Regions from separate parts of the Homo sapiens genome. Here all the other regions are linked to region 2. The links are contacts of gene promoters, found by promoter capture Hi-C in blood cells and fetal thymus (Javierre and others, 2016). All regions are on one chromosome and are shown on one strand. Each heading gives the region's core, a stretch centred on a gene start or on the middle of the fragment in contact. The rest is flanking DNA. Distances are from core to core; before and after follow the strand shown. Region 1 overlaps ZBTB16 (zinc finger and BTB domain containing 16). Region 2 holds the start of HTR3B (5-hydroxytryptamine receptor 3B). Region 3 has its middle 41 kb from the start of NNMT. Region 4 has its middle 12 kb from the start of NNMT.

Evidence for each region. The method cuts DNA at HindIII sites, captures the fragments that hold promoters and counts their contacts. A CHiCAGO score of 5 or more calls a contact.
Region 1: a contact is called between a fragment that was not itself captured here and the fragment with the promoter of HTR3B in region 2, in 1 of 17 cell types (total B cells). The highest score is 5.8, in total B cells.
Region 3: a fragment that was not itself captured here is called in contact with the fragment with the promoter of HTR3B in region 2 in 1 of 17 cell types (neutrophils); the score reaches 5.5 in neutrophils.
Region 4: a fragment that was not itself captured here is called in contact with the fragment with the promoter of HTR3B in region 2 in 4 of 17 cell types (total CD8 T cells, fetal thymus, total CD4 T cells and 1 more); the score reaches 5.9 in total CD8 T cells.

The regions. Positions count from the first base shown.
Region 1 is chr11:114,223,219-114,228,258 of GRCh38, forward strand. The region is part of intron 4 of ZBTB16 (zinc finger and BTB domain containing 16); the gene reads left to right. Among named protein-coding and RNA genes, the nearest start is that of NNMT, 71 kb to the right of the region's middle. The HindIII fragment of the contact is 1,035 bases long and covers 1,825-2,859 here.
Region 2 is chr11:113,903,167-113,907,826 of GRCh38, forward strand. It overlaps HTR3B (5-hydroxytryptamine receptor 3B), which reads left to right and starts at 1,630. Exons shown (of 9, transcript NM_006028.5): 1 at 1,630-1,819. The coding sequence starts at 1,768. The HindIII fragment of the contact is 6,317 bases long and covers 1-3,564 here.
Region 3 is chr11:114,335,204-114,340,095 of GRCh38, forward strand. No RefSeq gene overlaps it. Among named protein-coding and RNA genes, the nearest start is that of NNMT, 41 kb to the left of the region's middle. The HindIII fragment of the contact is 1,332 bases long and covers 1,185-2,516 here.
Region 4 is chr11:114,282,446-114,287,020 of GRCh38, forward strand. It overlaps a transcript of NNMT not described here. Among named protein-coding and RNA genes, the nearest start is that of NNMT, 12 kb to the right of the region's middle. The HindIII fragment of the contact is 853 bases long and covers 2,712-3,564 here.

The DNA.
Region 1 (5,040 bases), core at 1,092-3,591, 320 kb after region 2:
CCACATGAATGAATACTTCCAGGTTGAGAGGAGAAACCAAACCCACAAAAGCCTATGCCCTGCTCCTAACACATGTGGATATGAGTGTACACCTAACAATCGCACGTATTAAAAGATATGGGAATATACGGACTCAGAAGCCTGCAACTCATAGGGAATTGGGGATGGTGAGTGGGTGGGTGGCTTGAGAGAGGAGAGTAAGCCAGCATGTTTACTTGAGTTGAAGTTGGTCAGAGTCAGATATTAATGGTGTAGGCTCTGAAAATTATGACTTGCCTGGAGCTCTGGCTCAAGCCCACAGAAGTATTAATAGATTATTTTTAATGTATTTATTTGTTTATTAATTCATTCGGTAAATATTTATTGAACACCCATTCTTACTTAGTAGTATATTAGGCTCTGGGAATACAGTGGTGAGCAAATCAGAACCCATGTCTTCATGGGTTTCATGCCTTCTAGGGAGGCACACAAGAAAATAAGCAAGTCATATACAGGATAAATATTGTTATATTGGAGGTATAAGGATGTTATTAGAGCACACGTGAGCAACCTCCAACTTGGATGGAGGCTTCCTGGAGGTGGTGTCATCTAAGCTGTCATCTGAAGGATGAGAAGAAGTTAAGACAATGAAGGAATGGGGGAGAAAGGGAAGAATGCCAGGCTGAGAGTCAAGGTAGGTAAATGTCCAGAGTAGGGAGAGAGTAAGACAAGTTCATGGAACTGAAAATGGGAGTGGGGAGGAGGGCTAAGATCTGAACTTGGAGAAGTAAATGGGCATTAAATGGTGAAAGGCCCTTGAAAACCATTTTAAGTAGTTTTTGCCTTTTTCTGGGGACAATAGGGAAGTAATGAAAGGATCTTAATCAGGGGAGGGACATCAGGTGATGTCATGGAAAAGTTACTTTGACTACTTGGTTTTGACTCAACTGGTGGGTTTAAGCTGAAGGCAGGGAGATTGGGATAATATTGCCATCATTTAGGCAAAGAATATGGTAGTCTGAACCAGTGTTGCTGTATGAGGGGGTGGATAAATAAATGCACAAAAAGATACTAGAAATCCGAAAACATTTGGTAATTGATCTCTTTCGAGAGGTGAGAGAGGAATCTAGGATAATGCCCACTTTTCTTGCTTGGGCAACTGAGTGATAGTGGAGTTCTTTACTGAAATGAAGAATACAAGAAAAAAGAGCTTTTTTTATTGTTATCGTTAGGATACTGAACAGTTTTCATATACAGTAGCAGGGTGTGCATGACATCCAAAGGTAGGGTGTGCCTAGGAGGCATGTGGGTATACAGACGTATCTGGAATTCAGAAGAGAGAGACCCACTGGATATGTCCATTTTGGAGTTGTCATCAACATATAAATGATCATTGAAGCCCTTGGAACTGGGTGAGTTTATATAACAAGAGAGTATAGAAAGAGAAGAGAGCTTGGAATAGAATCCAGAGGAACCCCAACATATTCCACCCCTCCAGAACAATCCCAATCCACGATGGAGATCGAGGAGTTGCTGGAAGAAATAGGAGGGACACCAGAAGAGTGTGGTGTCATGGAAGCTAAAGGAAGAGGTTTCAAAAAGAAAAAAGCAGTCAGTTTTAGATGGTGCTGAGAAGTCCCCTAAGAGGCAGACTAAAAAATGTCTGTTGCTCTTAGTGACATGGGAGTCGCTGGATATCAAAGGCAAACAGTTTTGGTGTCAGTGGAATGATAGAAGCAGGAGTGGGATTACAGTGGGTTGAGGAGTTAGTGAGCAATTGGGAGGTAGAGGCAACGTGGGTAGGCAGCTCTAGGAGTGGAGGAGGTGGTTAGTTAGACCGATCCAAGCTTAGGGTACAGCAGGCTGGTGAAATTGAAGGATCCCAGGCAGGGGAGTTCAGGAATTGGCCAGAAGTCAGTGGGGAGTTGGACGACGGGCCTTGAAGTGTGGGCCGAATATGAAAGAAGTAAGGAAAGGAAAGGCATTCTAGGGAGATTTTTGAAGATCAAATAATGGGTTTGGTGGGAGTAACTGGATGGGAGAATTTAAAAGGTGGGAATGAGGTTTGAATATAACACTGTAGAGATAGAGCTCTTCTTGGTGATGAAAGACATAGAGTGTTCTCTATAAGCACCTCCTAGAGGGGGCCTAAGTGCAGCTCATGGTACCTGTCTTAGTCTGTTTTGTGCTGCTGTAGCAGAATGCCTGAGAGTGGGTAATGTATACAGAACAAAAATGTATTTGGTTCACAGTTTTGAAGGCTAAGTCCAAGATCAGGGTGCCAGCGTCTTACAAGGGCCTTCTTGCTGCACCACTCCATGGTGGAAGGCGAGAGGGCAAGAGAGAGCAGAGCACAAGAGGGGACTAGATTCATTTTTTCCTAAGGAACCCACTCCCTTGAGAACGACATTAATCCACGCGTGAGGGCACAGCCCCCATGACCCAAACACCTCCCAAGAGGCCCCACCTCCCAACACTGCTGCATTAAGATCAAGTTTTCAACACAGGAACTTTGGGGGACACATTTAAACCATAGAAGTACCTAAGTTAAAACACCACAGCCCACTGATTTAAATATCTGTACCCCACACCCTTCTTCACCCAGCCACTGGATCAGTGTTCTAAGCAGCTACTGTTTCTCCATCCCCTAATCATGTGACACTGTGATAGACATTGTTCATATATTATCTCTAATCTGCCCAGCAACCTTGCATGGTGGGTACTATAACTCTAATACAGAAAGGAAACTAAGACCCAGAGATACTAAGTGATTTGCATATGATTATGTAGTTAGTAAATAAATGGAAGAGTCAGAATTTGAACCCAGGTGTGGTCTGACTTCAACACCGAGGCTCTTTGCTTTGTACTTCTCAGACTGTAAGCTTCTTGGGGCCAAGAAGTATTTTCTTATCATTGTGTAGCCTCAGGGTTTGATTCCTATACAGAATTGGGACTCAAGAAATTTGAGGTGCATGAGTGAGTCAGTAAGTGAGTAACTGAGTGAGGGGTACATAAAGTAACTCTCTAATGCTGTTCCCCAGGGGAAATAAAGCACCACCACCCAAAGAGAGAAATGAAGAGCACTGGACAGAAGAAAGGAAGAGCAGAAAGATTTGGCCATCAAGCGATGCTGGTGTTGGGTAGCTAGAACAGAGGTGTCTCTCTTCACTACTGTTTCTAACCAGGGTGCTGGACAGCCTGTGGTTGGCCTGAGAGAGTCAGCCCTAAGGCCTCCATCTGCCCCAGCATCAACCCCAGGCTCCAGAGCTGTCAGGCAGTGGCCCAAAAACTCCAGAGGAGGAGCTGAAAGGGGAGGTACCTAAGAAACAAAACCCACATGGGAGGAGAGAACCCCAAACCACGAAGTGACATTCTACTTCACGTTTCCTTTTAGTGTCGGCATCTGAGGCTGGGGTTTCTCTCCAGACCCTCCTTCAGAGTGCCCAGGGTTGGCGTGTCTGAATGTGTGAGAGTGTTGGGAGGGACCACGCTGCCCATGAGGAGCATGCACACCACCTGACATGACCTTGAACTCCAGCCAGATGCCTACCAGACACTCGTCTTCCTTCCCTGAAACTGATTTATAGAATCAGGAGAGCAACCTACTTGAAAGGAGGGTAGTTCCAGATGTGGGGGTAATGGGAAATGCTAGTGGGCAATGTGCTCTTTTATTTTACTATTTTTCTTTATCATATCATATTCCTCTCTCTCCCTCCCCAAATAGCAAGAAGGACAGTATCTTCCTTCCAGGCTTTAAAATCCCTTGCGTGCAGCCTGACGTTGCCTAAAAGCCTCTCCCTCAGGCCTACGGACTCCCTCTCATTGCTTGCCTATTCAGTAAGCCTATAAATTTACTGTCCCCTGTCCACCACCATCACCACCAGCCTGTTGTGGCAGGGAAGGTGGCCTGGTGAGCCCAGTGGACTCCAGCAGGACTGCAGCAAGGCGATACTGCTTTGTGCAGCAGCCGGAGCAGCGCTGTCCCTGAGGTCTGCAGGAAAGTCCTGGGGCCCAGGAAGACAGTGGCCCATCACCCCCAGTATTGCACATCAGGTATCCCCCACCTGTGTGCACCATGCACACCCCCACCATCCACCTCCTGGGCCCCATGTGCTGGGGGAAGGTGTGGTCAGCAGACAGGGGAGGATGTCATGCTGACGGAGCCCCTTAGAACAATAGGAGCTTCACAGGATCACAAAGCCTATCCCCCCTCATGTTACAGAAGAGTTGAAGTCCAGAGAAATCAAATTCATTTGTGCAATCCTTTATCCATCTATTCGTCCTTCTCTCCATCCAATAAATATTCATTGAACACCTGTCAGAACCAAGAGATAGAGTGCTGTATAAGAGAAGTGAGGTCGCAGCTCTCATGCAGCTTTCATTCTGACAGGTGGGGAAGACAGTAAACCTTGAACTTAAAGCAAGTCTCTAAGTCTTGTGGGTGTCACAGCTGAAGACTAAGGCTGGGCCTCCTGTAGTGTCCTTTGCAAGGCCCCATACTCCCTGCTTCCTGGGAGGCCAAGCATTTAGTTTGGCTCTCCATTGCAGATGGAGAAGTTTGAGGGAATAAATACCAGTTTGGACTAGATACTTCTGGGCGGCAGAAGGGTACAGGTAGTTTCAGACCAGGATTGGTTTTTAATTTTTTAATTTTGGTAAATTATATGTAATGCAAAATTTGCATTTTTAACCATTTTAAGAGGACAATTCAGTGGCATTAAATACATTAGCATTGTCATGCAACCATCAACACACACTGTATCTCCAGAACTCTTATCATCCCGTAAAACAGAAACTCCGTACCCATTAAACACCAACTCCCCATTCCTTCCCTGACTCCTAGACAGGGATTCTTAACTTTTTTGTGCCATTGGCTCCCTGGGCAGTCTGGCGAAACCCCTGAACTCTTCCTCAGAATCAGGTCTCTAAATGCAGAAAGTAAAATACATAGGATTGTCATGGAAACTTGAAATACAAATATCAAAATATTTTTTAAAAACCATTTGTAATATAGAAATATGTGTGATTCTTTGTTATCCCATTAACCAATAACATCAGGCT
Region 2 (4,660 bases), core at 380-2,879:
GGCCCACCTTGGCACTTTTGAAGATGCCTGCTGTTTTGTTTGTCCCACAGTATGCCACTGTCTCATCTGGTGTTTCCTCCTGAATAGATTCAAGTTATGAATTTTTGGCAAGACTATACCGGAAGAGCTATGGAAGCTAGGTGTGCTTGTTACTATTGGGGTGTCATTCTCCTAGGCTGCTAAGTGGACAGAGCTAGGGAATATATGCATGTATGAACATGTGCAAACACACATTACATTTGTATTTATTTCTTTTCTTTTCTTTTTTTTTTTTTTTTTTTGAGGCGGAGTCTCCCTCTGTCTCCCAGGCTGGAGTGCAGTGGCGCGATCTTGGTTCATGGCAACCTCCACCTCCTGATTCAAACAATTCCCCTGCCTCAGCCTCCCGAGTAGCTGGGATTACAGGCATGTGCCACCACGCCTGACTAATTTTTGTAGTTTCAGTAGAGATGGGGCTCACCATGTTGGTCAGGCTGGTCTCAAACTCCTAACCTCAAGTGATCCACTGGCCTCGGCCTCCCAAAGTGCTGGGATTACAGGCTTGAGCCACCACGCCCAGCTTATTTGCAATTATTTATATATTTAGCAAATGTACTGAAAACCATGGGTTCACACTGATACCTCCAAAACCAAGTCAACACCAAATGGTTATCTTAGTTTTCTCTCTTTCTGTGTATACCACTCCCTTCACCAACAGTAAGAAAGCAATTAGGCTACATTTTATTGGTAGATGAAAATTAGGTGTAGAACTTCATGGATTCTAAACAAAGGGACTGAGTGATTAGGAGAATAGGAATCAAATATATACTTTCCCCCCTTCGGTTGGCTCTGTGAAAATTTATATCAAAATTTGCCTCTATAATCTCATTTTTAATAAAAAAGCAGGCAGATGTTGGAAATGGTATTTGTTTTTTCTTTCTAGAGCATCTGGGGGTGTCTAGAAATGGAAAATAGTGTTATTGTATAGAATTATGCATCATGTTCCTTAGTAATGAAAAATGAATGCGTATTCAATCAAAAAGTGAAAAAAAAACTTTTATTAAATGATGTTGAACTTTGTTTTCATCTTCAATAAGCCTAGAAGCATCCTTTCTAGAAGGTTACTTTCTGAATTGTGAGCAGTGAAAATTTGAGAAGCCCTCCTATTTATCAAAAGTCAATGTTTCTTTTAATTAAAAGGGCTTAGGAAAAACAAAAAGCACTTTTCCATTGCATTGTTTGCAGTTGTTCTTCATTAGACAATACCAGGTTTCCATTAGCCTTGTGTAATTCAAGAGCCCAAGAACCACTGTCAAATGCTGAAGATGTTACTGCATAAGTCTGATTTAGAACAGCTATTTGGATTTCAATTATTAATGAAATTAGTGTCCTGAATGTCAGCAAGAGTACTGCCTTAGGTAAAGGCTGTAAAGGAAATCATATTAGTGTGGAATTTCCTCTCCTTAGGGGCTCCTCTTAGATTACATTATTCACTTAGCTATCTCCTGTCAGGAAAATGGAAATGTTGGCCACGGTCTGATCTTGGGGCAGAACCAAAGGGAGAAGTTAAGGGATTTCATGACGGCATCAATTCCAAAACATTTGCATGGTGCTGGTATTGCCTTTGGTCCCACTGAGTGTTTACAAAATAGCACCAGTAAGGATAGCATCAACTGGCAAACGGAGAAGGAGGAGAACAGAGTGGAGAGGAACCCTGTTAGGAGAAATTGAGCGGCATTCCATCTGGTAGGCAAGTTTGCATTTCTCCTTTTTGGGATCTGCCCAGGAATGTTGTCAAGTGTAATGGCTCCCCTGTGGGCCTGCATCCTGGTGGCTGCAGGTGAGTCCTTTTAATAATTTTACTAGGCATTAAGGATTAACTCTTAGAAGATAGAGACAATATTTGTATACACCGTACTGTAGGACTTCTCAGGCATGTTTGTTTTTATTCATCGTCTGTAAAATGCCAGTCCTGTGAAGCTATATGGAAAACAATGATTTGTTTGTGACTTGGCTCCTATGATTGCAAATACGTATACATATAGCATCAGACTGTGGGGCTTTTTACACATAGCTGAAAATATGCTCTGAAATGTTATAATTGCTTGATAAATCTCTGCTTCTCTAGAAATCAAGCTCTCTGCAGGTTGATTGAGAGTTTGGGGCATTCTTTTTCAAATTTGCTTTTATGTGTGGATAATATGTTTTTATTATCCAAAATAGTCTTGGCTTCATTATCAGCTGTTAGCAGCCCAGAGAAAAAGTCCACTAGATTTGTCATGGCTACAGATATATGTATATCATTTTGGTATTAGAGGCCTTAACATCTCGCCTTACAAAATCTATATAGGTGATGAGTATATCTCTAAAGACAGGTACTATAAACTGGTAAGTTTTGAGTCTACAATTCCTCTTAAAAGTAATTTAGAAGTTAATACTTTTTTTTCTAAATTTCTAGAACTATATTTCCATGGCACCAGTATTAACTCTACTGAATTGAATCATTTTAGTTAGGATACAATTGATTCTTAGTACATGCGCACAAATCAAGAATTTATGATTATGCTGGTGTTCTCAACACCCCACTTTCTTGAGGTTTCTCCTAGAGCTCATATCTGAATTCTCAAGTTTTAGGATGTAACTGGAAGTGGAATGAGTCAATTATAGAGATGAGTTAGAAATTTGGTAGCCAGGAAGCTGGAAATGATTTTTTTATTGGGTAGAGAAGAAAAATAGCCACTTATCATTAAAGTATAAAAATCCTGGATGTTGAACATAAAGGATAAAAGCATATCTTAATTGTAAAAAATAAAAACAGAGGAAGTGTCATTAAATGCCAAATGGGTTTCTTAGTAGAAAATAATCGTGAACATTAAACTAAGATAAAATAGAAAAATGAAGGTAAGAAAACAGACTAAGTTCTTAACAATATCTCTCTAATGTTTTGTATTATGCATGATTTTTGTTCTAAATGTAGCAGAAAGAAGTGTTTTAATAGTGTCTGATAACCAGTGCTTTACCATAAATCATTCCGTGGATACTTGTTGCAGAAAGACCTGCCCTGTGGAATTGTACTGGGTTTTACTATGTTTACTTTACGTATTTTACTATATTTACAAATCAAGATGATTTGTTAAGTGTAAGAGCACGGAACCAATCCCAGGGGGCAGTGTGCTGGTATAGAAGGAGGCCTGAACAAGGAGAGCCAGCTAATTCCTGCTTCACCACTCACCAGCCACGTAACCCTGGGAAGTCAATTAATCTCTTAGAGACTCAGTTTTCCTGTAAGCTAACTTTATTTTGGATATTCATGACAATCAGATAAGACAGCATTGTTAAATTGTAAGGTGAAATGCAAATGTAAGATATTATTAACCTGAAAACACATGCAGAAAATACCACTGGCTATTTCTGTCCAATAATATACTCCATACAACATGTCAGTCTTCTTTTTGAAAGGTTACTTGCTGTTGTTCCTGATATTCTCAGGGAGCCAGGTTACACTTAATCATGTAGCGTCATGATTAAGAGCTTGGACTTCGAATCCAGACCAGCTGTGTGTAAATATCACTCCCTTCACTTGCAAGCTTCATGACCTTGGGCAGTGCTAAGCTCACTATGCCAATAGTCCCTCATCTGCAGGAATAGTGCACTCCTCACAGAGCTGTAGAGTACCTGTCTCATAAGTTTGTTGGGAACTTTGAAGGAGATCATTCATGTGAGGACTTAGCCTGGTGCCTGGCATACAGTCAGCATTCAATTAGTGTTAGGAATTCAATACATAAATCTCATTTCCTTTTAACCTCTCAGATATATGTGTAACTCTCTTATAATCCTACAGATACATAGTGACTAAAGCAAGAATAGTGCTTTCCATCAAAGTGCCCTGAACACTTTAAGATAGGTGCATGGGAGAGTAAGTCATTAAAACAAGGAAAACACAGGAATAATTTTACTGTGTTCTTATCTTCCTCCTTTTCAATCTCTCTTCACCTGCAAGTGCTTCATAGCTCAGTCCCTAACACATTCTACTTTCCAGAAATCTTACAAGTGAATCATTTGAAGCTGATTATTAGCATTCAAGAAGGCAGTTTTGGCGAGGAATCTTTTCTGGGTCTGTTGATAGCTTCCATCAGTGTCTGTTGAAACATCACTGAACTGTGAGTCATTTAGTGCTTGTGTGAATGTCACATTAGCTTTCAAGGGGCATAATTTACTGTTAATTAATGGTCACTTAAATCCTTAATCTCTCTCCTGTAATTGATCTTTCTCCTCAGGCAAATTTGCATTCATAGTAGAAATGTAATTTATTATTTCTTCCCATCTTAAACAAAGAACTCTTTCCCCTTTTGGTTTATTTAAGCATATTTCCATTTGCTTATTATTTTTCTCCTTTCAGTGCTTGATTCTCTTTTGTTCCTAGTCCTAGCTTCCAGAACTTTCTCTTTTTAACCAAGATTTTGACCCATTCTAGAAAACATGAGTTTATCCATAGGGAATCTATGGATTGCTTCCTAGACAAGATCGCAGAGGGGAATTTGAGTCTTTGTGAGCAGACAGTGCGAGGAACACATATTCATTTCTCAGAATTATGTTTTAATGCTGTCTCGGGTAATTTCCTGTATTGAAACATACTCATTTCGGTGTTTCCCCAACTGAGACTTGAATTGGGAGCTTCCAA
Region 3 (4,892 bases), core at 601-3,100, 430 kb after region 2:
CAAGAAGCAGTATAATGTTTGGCGAAAATGGACTTGGATTAATTGTAAATGTATATTGCACACTCTAGGGCAACCACTAAAAAAAGTAAAAAGTATAACTGATATGATAAGAAAGGAGAGAAAATTGAATCATATAAAGTTGCTAAATTAAAATAACTAAAGGCAGAACAAGAGTGAAAGACAAAAATAGAAACGAAGAACAAGGGTAACAAAAACAGTAACAAATATGATAGATATTAACCCAATTATATCAATAATCACTTTGAATATGAGTGGTCTTAAGCACAACAATTAAAAGACAGAGAATGTTAGAATGGATCAAGAAACAAGACTCAGTTACAGGTTGTCTATAAGAAACCTCCTTTAAATATAAAGACTCATATCAATTGAAAGTAAATGGATGGAGAAAGGTATACTATGCTAAAACTAATCAAAAGAAAGTGGAAGAAACTAGAACAATTTCAGACACAGAACACTTCACAGCAAGTAAAGTTATTAGGGATAAAGAGGAGCATTGCCGAATGATAAAGGGGTCAGTTCTCTAAGAAGACATAGCAATCCTTAATGTGTGTGCACCTAATAACACAGCATCAAAATACATGAAGCAAAAACTGATAGAACTGTGAGGAGAAATAGATGAGTCCACTAGTATAGTGGGAGAGTTCAACATCCCTCTATCAGAAATGGACAGATTCAGCAGGCAGAAAATCATTAAGAACATAATCAAATTCAAAAACATCATCTATAAACTGTAAATAATGGACAGCTATAAACTAGTTCATCCAGCAATAGCAGAATTCACTGTACATTCTTCTCAAGCTCACATGGAATATTCATCAAGATAGACCACATTCTAGACCACTTCATATACCTTAACAAATGTAAAAAAAAAGTAGAAATCGTAGTGTCTGCTCTCAGACCACAATGGAATTAAACTAGAAATTTATAATAGAAGGATAGCTGAAAAATCCCCCAATACTTGGAGATACAAATACAACATGTGTCTAAATAATACAAGGGTCAAAGCAGAAATCTCAGGAGAAATTAAAAAGTACTTTGAACTAAATGAAAATAACACAAGTTATCAAAAACTGTGCAGTGCAATAAAAGTAGTGCTAAGGGGGAAATTGATAGCATGGAGTGCATATATTAGAAAATAGGAAAGATTTAAAAGAAATCACCTAAGCTTTCATCTTCGGAAACTGGAAAAACAAGAGCGAACTAAATCTATACTGAACAGAAGAAGAGAAACAATAAAAATTAGAGCAGAAATCAATGAAATTGAAACAGAAAATTAACAGAGAAAAATCAATAAAACCAAAAGCTGGTTCTTTGAAAAGATCAATAAAATTAATAAGCCCATAGCCAGGCTAACTTAGAAAAAAGAGAGAGAGGAAGAACATAAATTAGTAATATCAGAGATGAAAGAGGGGACATCATTACAAAAGTCATGTACATTAAAAGGATAATAAAGGAATACTGTGAACAACTTTATGCTTACAAATTTGATAACCTAGCTAAAATAGACCAATTTCTTGAAAGACGCAATCTGCCAAAACTCACATAAGAAGTAATACACACTGAATAAGGGTATATCTATTCAACTGAAAATGAATCAATAATTAATAGCCTCCTAAAGCAGAAAGCATCAGGTCAAAATGGGTTCGCTGGTGAATTCTACCAAACGTTTAAGGAAAAAAGCACACCGATTTTCTACAACCTCTTTCAAAGATAGAAGCACAAGGAATACTTCCTAACTCATTCTATGAAGTCAACATCACCTTCATACCAAAACCAGGCAAACACATTGGAAGAAAATAAATCCGCAGTTCAATATATCTTGGCTGGGTGCAGTGGCTCACGCCTGTAATCCCAGCACTTTGGGAGGCCGAAGCGGGAGGATCACCTGAGGTCAGGAGTTCGAGACCAGCCTGGCCAATATGGCAAAACCCTGTCTCTACTAAAAATACAAAAATTAGCCGGGTGTGGTGGTGCATGCCTGTGATCCCAGCTACTACTCAGGAGGCTGAGACAGGAGAATCGCTTGAACCTGGGAGGCAGAGATTGCAGTGAGCCAAGATCACGTCACTGTACTCCAGAGAGACTCTGTCTCCAAAAAAAAAAAAAAAAAATCCACAGTTCAGTATCTCTCATGAACATAGATGCAAAAATTCTCAACAAAATGTTAACAAATTGAATCCATCAAAGTATAAAAAGAATTGTGTGCCACACCAAGGGGGATTTATCCCAGGAATGAAAGGCTGTTTCAACATTTGACAACTAATTAAGGCTATCCATCATATCAACAGGCTAAAGAACAAAATACAGATGATTACATCAATAGATGTAGAAAAAACCTTTGACAAAATCTAACACTTGCTCATGATAAAAGAAAAAGAAAAAGAAAAAAAAAACTCCTCAGTAAATGAGAAATAGAGGGGGAACTTCCTCAACTTGATAAAGAATATCTACAAAAAATATACAGATAACGTCATATTTAATGGTGAGAAATTAGAAGCTTTCTCATTAAGATCAGGAACAAGGCAAACACATACTCTCTCACCACAGCTTTTCAACATTATGCTAGAAATCCTAGCTAATGCAATGAGATAAGTAAAGAAAATGTATACTGACTGAGAAGGAAGAAATAAAACTATCTTGTTCACAAAAGACATGATTGTCTAAAAGAAAATCTGAAAGAATCAGGCCAGGTGTGGTAGCTCACGCCTGTAATCCCAGCACTTTGGGAGGCCGAGGCGGGTGGATCACAAGGTCAGGAGTTCAAGGCCAGCCTTACCAACATGGTGAAACCCCATCTCTACTAAAAATACAAAAATTAGCCAGGTGTGGTGGCGTGTGCCTGTAATCCCAGCTACTCAAGAGGCTGAGGCAGGAGAATTGCTTGAACCCAGGAGGCGGAGGTTGCAGTGAGCCGAGATCACACCACTGCACTCCAGCCTGGACGACAGAGCGAGACTCCATCTCAAAATAAAAAAAGAAAGAAAATCTGAAAAATCAAGAAAAAAAGCTCCTGGAACTAATAAACAATTATAACAAGGTTTCAGGATGCAAGGTTAATATACAAAAGTCAATCATTTTTCTGCATAGCAACAATGAACAAGTGGAATTTGATATTAAAAAGAAATTGTCATTTATATTAACAGTGCCTCAAAATAAAATACTTGGGTATAAATCTAACAAAACCTGTACATGGTCTATATAAGGAAGGCCATAAAACTGATGAAAGAAACCAATGAAAAACTAAATAAATAGAGAAATATTCCATGTTCATAGATAGAAAAACTCAGTATTAGTCAAGATATTAGTTCTTCACAACTTGATCTATAGATTCAATGCAATCAAAATCAAAATCCTAGTAAGATATTTTGTGGCTATCAATAATCTGATTCCAATGTTTATATGAAGAGTCAAAAGACAGTCAATAACCACCACAAGATTGAAAGAAAAGAACAAAATTGGAGGACTGACATCAAGACTTATGATATTACTATAACTACCCTAAAGCCACAGTGATAAAGACGGTGTGGTATTGGTGAAAAAACTGGCAGAGGATCAATAGGATAGAATAGAAAGCCCAGAAATAGACCTACATAAACACAATCAACTAATCTTTGAAAAGGGGGCAAAGGCAATACAATGGAGACAAGATAGGCTTTACAATAAGTGGTGCTGGAACAACTGAACATTCACATGCAGAGAAGTGAATCTCGACACAGACTTTCCACCCATCACAAAAATTAATTCAAAATACCCCACAGACCAAAATATCAAACTGTAAAACTAGAAGATAACATAGGAGAAAATCTAGATGCCCTTGGGTTTGTCAATGACTTTTTAGATATAATACCGAAACCACAATACATGAAAAAAAGAACTGATATGCTGGACTTCTTTAAAATTAAAGATTTCTGCTCTGCCAAAGACACTGTCAAGAAAATGAAAAGACAAGCTGCAGACTGAGAGAGAGAGAAGATATTTGTTAAAAACACACCTGACAAAGGACTGGTACCCAAAATATGCAAAGAACTCTTGAAACTCAACAATAAGAAGACAGAGAACCCAATTAAAAAATGGGCCAAAGAACTTAACAAATACCTCCCCAAAGAAGACATGTAATGGCAAATAAACACATAAAAAGATGCCCCACATCATATGTCATCAGAGAGATGCAAATTAAAACAACAATGAGATACCACTACACACCTATCAGAGTGGCCAAAATTCAGAACATTGAAAACACCAAATGCTGGTGAGGCTGTGAAGCGACAGGAACTCTCCTTTATTGCTGGTGGAAATGCAAAATGCTATAGACACTTTGGAAGACAGTAAGACAGTAAAAAGATCCATGCTTGCTAGGGGTTGGGAGGAAGAAGGAATGAACAGGTGGAGCACAGATGATTTTTAGGGCAGTAAAAATACTCTGTATGATTCTATAATGGTGGATACATGTCATTATACATTTGTTTAAACCCATAAAATGTACAATACCAAGCATAAACCCTAAGGTAAGCTTTGGACGCTGAGTGATAATGACTGATGGTGAGTGTCAATGTAGGTCCAGCAATGATAGCAAATGCACCACTCTGGTGGGGGATGTTGATAATGGCGGATGCCTTGCATATGGGGAGCAGAGGGTGTATGGGAAGTCTCAGAAACTTCCACTCAATTTTTCTGTGAACCTAAAACTGTCTAAAAAATAAAATCTACTTACAAAGTAATAACAATAATAACAGTAATTTATTTTGAACATGATATTATATATTTGACCCCTTACTTTTTTCTTTGGATATGTGTGTGTTGGGGGAATGACATCAAAGGCCTTTTAGTTTTTTTAAACTTGGTTTTTTCTTCCCTTCCATGAGGCTGACACA
Region 4 (4,575 bases), core at 1,888-4,387, 380 kb after region 2:
AAGAATATGACCAGGAAATGTATAGAAGAGGAAACTCCAAAAGCTAGCAAGCATTTTGTGACAGAGATTGTCTAACTCCTCCCCAATTTGCATGTCCTTTTTTCAGCACACATCCAGGCTGTATTTCACAGCCCCCTTGCCTCAGGCCATGTGATGGAATTCTGACCCAAAGAATATTAACAGATTAATGTATGGCACTACTTAGGCTGTGTCCTCAAAACCCTCGCATTCCAATCTCCTCCGAGAGCTCTCTCCCCTCCTCTGAGGGCTAGATGAAGAGAATCCAATGGAAGGCTCTGGGGCCTTAGAGCCACACAATGGAAGAAGTCTGAGTGCCGAAAGGACCACTGGGGGAGTACCCTTCCCTTGCCTGCCATCATGGTCTGTGATGTGAAAACAAACATTTATTTTGTTAAGCCACTGAGGTTTGAGGTCTGTTACATCACTTAGCTTATCTCACTGATACTGATATGCATGTTTAGAAGTGCTCAAACTCATCAGAGAAAGTGTACAACTTCACTTATTCTCATTAGACTAGCAAAAATTAGTATAGCAGATCATTCTAAAAATTGATGGTAGGGATGGGAGTGGGTGTGCCGATACAGGGAACCTCATGCACTGCTGATGGGGGTGTAGACTGGTATAGCCTTGCTGGGGGCAATCTGGTGGTTCTTACTCAAATTAAATATGTGGATACCTTAGGATTCACCAGTTCTACTACTGGGAATGCCCCCCATAGGAATTCTCACACAGGTCTCTATATGAAGGAGACATGGATGTCTCTGGAATCATTGTGTTGGGGAGTTGGAAACAATCTGGGTATCTGCTCCTGGGGGTGTGGATAAATAAATGAGGGGTGCAAATCATGAAGAACGATGCAGTGGCATGAAGCAGTGGGTCACATACACACGTAATGTGATAGGGCTTTAATGCATAGTGAAAATGATGCAAATACAAATATATGCATACACAGCAGCAGCACACATTTTACCAAAATGCACATAAAGAATAGACATCAAACACCTTGGGATGGTTGTCTATGAAAGGGAAATGAGAGTGGAAAATAAAAGGGGAGGAAGAAAATATAATCATATGAGTGAATTTCCTTCCACTGTACAGATTCTCAGTTCATTCCGAAAGCTTTTTGACAAGAGATTGAAGACTGACAATCACAGCTGTTTTACTTCCGAGGCTTAGTTTTCTTTACAGAATCTTATTTCCATGAGGTTATTACGTCTATCCTCAATTTTTAAAAAAGCTTATATTCTGCCTTTGTTGCTTTTTTTTCAATTTAATAAGCATTTTCTTTTAACCACCTGACCTCATGCTTTTTCAAAAACTAAACTAAACAAAACAATAAAGGAAGAAGAGAATTACAAGATCCAATCTTAGTCCTAACATCTTTTACCCTGAACATAAAACGATTTGCTTTTTACATAGGTAATAAACAGAGGGAGAAGAGTGAACTTCATAATCTTGATATTTGTATAGCATTAGTAGTGATAGGACAGATGTCCTAAATAGGTATCGTACCGTTACAGTAATTAGTAGGAAGCAAAGAAAAATCAATGGAACAGAGCAGATAGCCCTAAATCAGGTCCCAGTAAGTTTTGTAAGTAAGCATGTGACAAAGGAGCAACAAGCCGAGGAGGAAAGGAAACAAAGCAAAATAGTGCAGATAGCACAGAAGCCACTCAGGTTTTCAGCTTTTGCCAGCAGGATATTAGGGAGGCTCCACCCTGATTTCCAGCCTCTCTGTGCCAGGCAGATGTGGATCTCCAGCAAGCTGGCCACCTGCCACAGCAACACTGCTGGTACCTGGCTCTGCCAAAGGCCCTATCACCCTGGATGCCATCTGCCTGCAATTTACAAACTGTATAGGAGGGGTAGGTCAGGCCTGGACACCTCGTGGCTGGACTATGGAAACTGGTCCTGGCTGAGGCTCAGGAATTGCTTTCCTTTCCAAGTAGTCCTCAACCACCTTCACCCCAACATGGTTTTTTTTGTTTGTTTGTTTTTGTTTTTTGTTGCTGTTGTTTTTCTTGAGATGGAGTCTTGTCCAGGCTGGAGTGCAGTGGTGCTATCTTGGCTCACTGCAACCTCCGCCTCCTGGGTTCAAGCAATTCTCCTGCCTCAGCCTCCCAAGTAGCTGGGACTACAGGCATGTGCCACCACACCCGACTGATTTTTGTATTTTTAGTAGAGACGGGGTTTCACCGTGTTAGCCAGGATGGTCTCGATCTCCTGACCTTGTGATATGCCCACCTTGGCCTCCCAAAGTGCTGAGATGACAGGCGTGAGCCACTGCACCCGGCCATCTTTTTTTTTTTTTTTTTTTTTTTTGAGCAGAGTATTGCTCTGTCACCCAGGCTGGGGTGCAGTGGTGTAGTCTCTGCTAACTGCAACCTCCACCTTCTGGGTTCAAGTGATTCTCCTGCCTCAGCCTCCCAAGTAGCTGGGATTACAGGTGCATACCACCATGACGGGCTAATTTTTGTATTTTCAGTAGAGACAGTTTCATCATGTTGGCGAGGCTGGTCTTGAACTCCTGATCCGCCCACCTCAACCTCCAAAAGTGCTGGGATTACAGGTGTGAGCGACTGTGCCTGGCCCCAACATGTCTTTTCTCCCATCACGCTTCTTCTTCCTTTAGCCAAGAAGCTTGCCACCTTACACCCTTCCTCTCCCTCCCTCCTTGGCATCCTTCTCAAAGCTTTCTGTAACCTGAACAATGGATTTAGAAGCCAGTGAAAATATTTGAGACGCTGGAGTATTGATAACCAGATAATTAGATAACTAGAGTTTCTGGCTGAATCAGTGTCTTTGTGGCTATGGATTTTCAACCCAAAGCTCTACGAGAGGGCACACTGTGAGAACCAGGCAGAAGGCAGCCCTCTGCGTACATACAGTGACGCCCTTATGGTCTGCAGCCTCATTTTTACCCCAAAGGTAGCCATGACTTAAGAGTGACAAAAGAGAGAAGCTGACAGGTTGTGGACTCCAAGAAAGGGTTCTCTACCTCCCTGCAATTAAGGCTCATATTAATCAGCTCTGGACTCACCATATGCATCCACTAAAATCTAGAGCAGGCCCTGCGGGAGCACATCAAATTTGATGGGTTATAGTTTTGGTGATAATTTTGTTTATTTGTTATTAATTACCAAGCACATGAAATGCTCCCAAATTACTGATGCCTCTTACTCCAGGAGTTGCTTAATTTGGCTCTGCCTTGGAATTCTTTCCTGGCGACTCACGCCTGCCACAAGGTATGGTTTGAGCAGAGAAAGAGGAAGAGGCTCAGTAGTTGCTTCTCTGCAACATATGTGAATACCCCACCCACAATTGCAGCAGGAAGAGGTGAAGGGAGCAGGCTCCTAATTGCTGTGGCGTACCCAGGGGTACATTTCTTTCTTGGAGATAAGCAGAAGGCAAGGAGTGTCAAATGAGAGATCACTGCCTACAGAAGTCTGTGTCATCTCTGAAGCATCCTGGGGCCCTCTGATCTACAGTAGGCCTTGATGTCATCTGAGGCACAGAAGGACTTCTTCCAGCATTGGAAAGAAAAGCTTGGAAGGAAAGCTTCAGCTGCAGTTTCTGTAATGTTCTCCTCCATCCTTGCCCCATTTTTGCAGAGATCGTTGTTTATCCTTTAGTACCATTGAGTACCATTTAGCCCCACTGGGTAAAATTGAGTGAAAAAGAAACACTAGGTCCTGCCTCAGAGAGGAAACTTGGGAAGACCAATATTATCAAGTAGACTTGATCTCTAAATTTGTGCTTGTTTCGAGGGACTCTGCGTCTGGATATGCAGGATGTTTTTTAAATTGTGAGATGCATCTACAGAAAAGTTCATAGAACATTTACATAGAGCATAAAGGTTAATATAAAATGCATGAGCACTGGTTAGCATTGCAGGATTTTTGAAGCACCCTCTTCCCCCTGTGTTCTGTAACCTGAGCACAACTTTGTCCTCCCCAGTCACCCACAGGCAACCACTATCCTGGCATCTAATGAAATTATCTCATTGTTTTTCTTTAGTTTTCCCACCCACTTGTGCATCACTAAATAATAAAATTTACTTTTGTTTGTTTTGGACTTTTGGACTTTATAGATTGAATAAAAAGGAAGTCTTTCTTGGGACTTTCTTCTTTCGCCCTACATCATTTGGAGAATCATCCATGCTGATGCTTGTAGTTCTAATTGGTTCATTTTCATTGCTGTACACTCCAATTTATTCTACCATTGTTGGACTTTTAGGTTGTTTCTAGTTGGGGGCTGTTCCAAACAATGCTGCTAAGAACATTCATGTTTATGTGCCAGATTTTTCTCTAGGTGTGTACCTGGACTGTAATTACTGGGCATAGGGTACGCAGCAACTCAACTCTACCAGTCAATGCCAGACTGTTTTCCATAACGCTGCACCAAGTTACATGCCTGCTAGAAATACACAAGGACATCTATTGGTCAAGGCCTTTGGTGCTGGTCAGATGTGATTTTTGCCAGTTTGATGGCTGCATAATTGTATCTCATTGTGGTTTAATTTGCATTCCACTGATGAGATTAAGGATCTTTTCC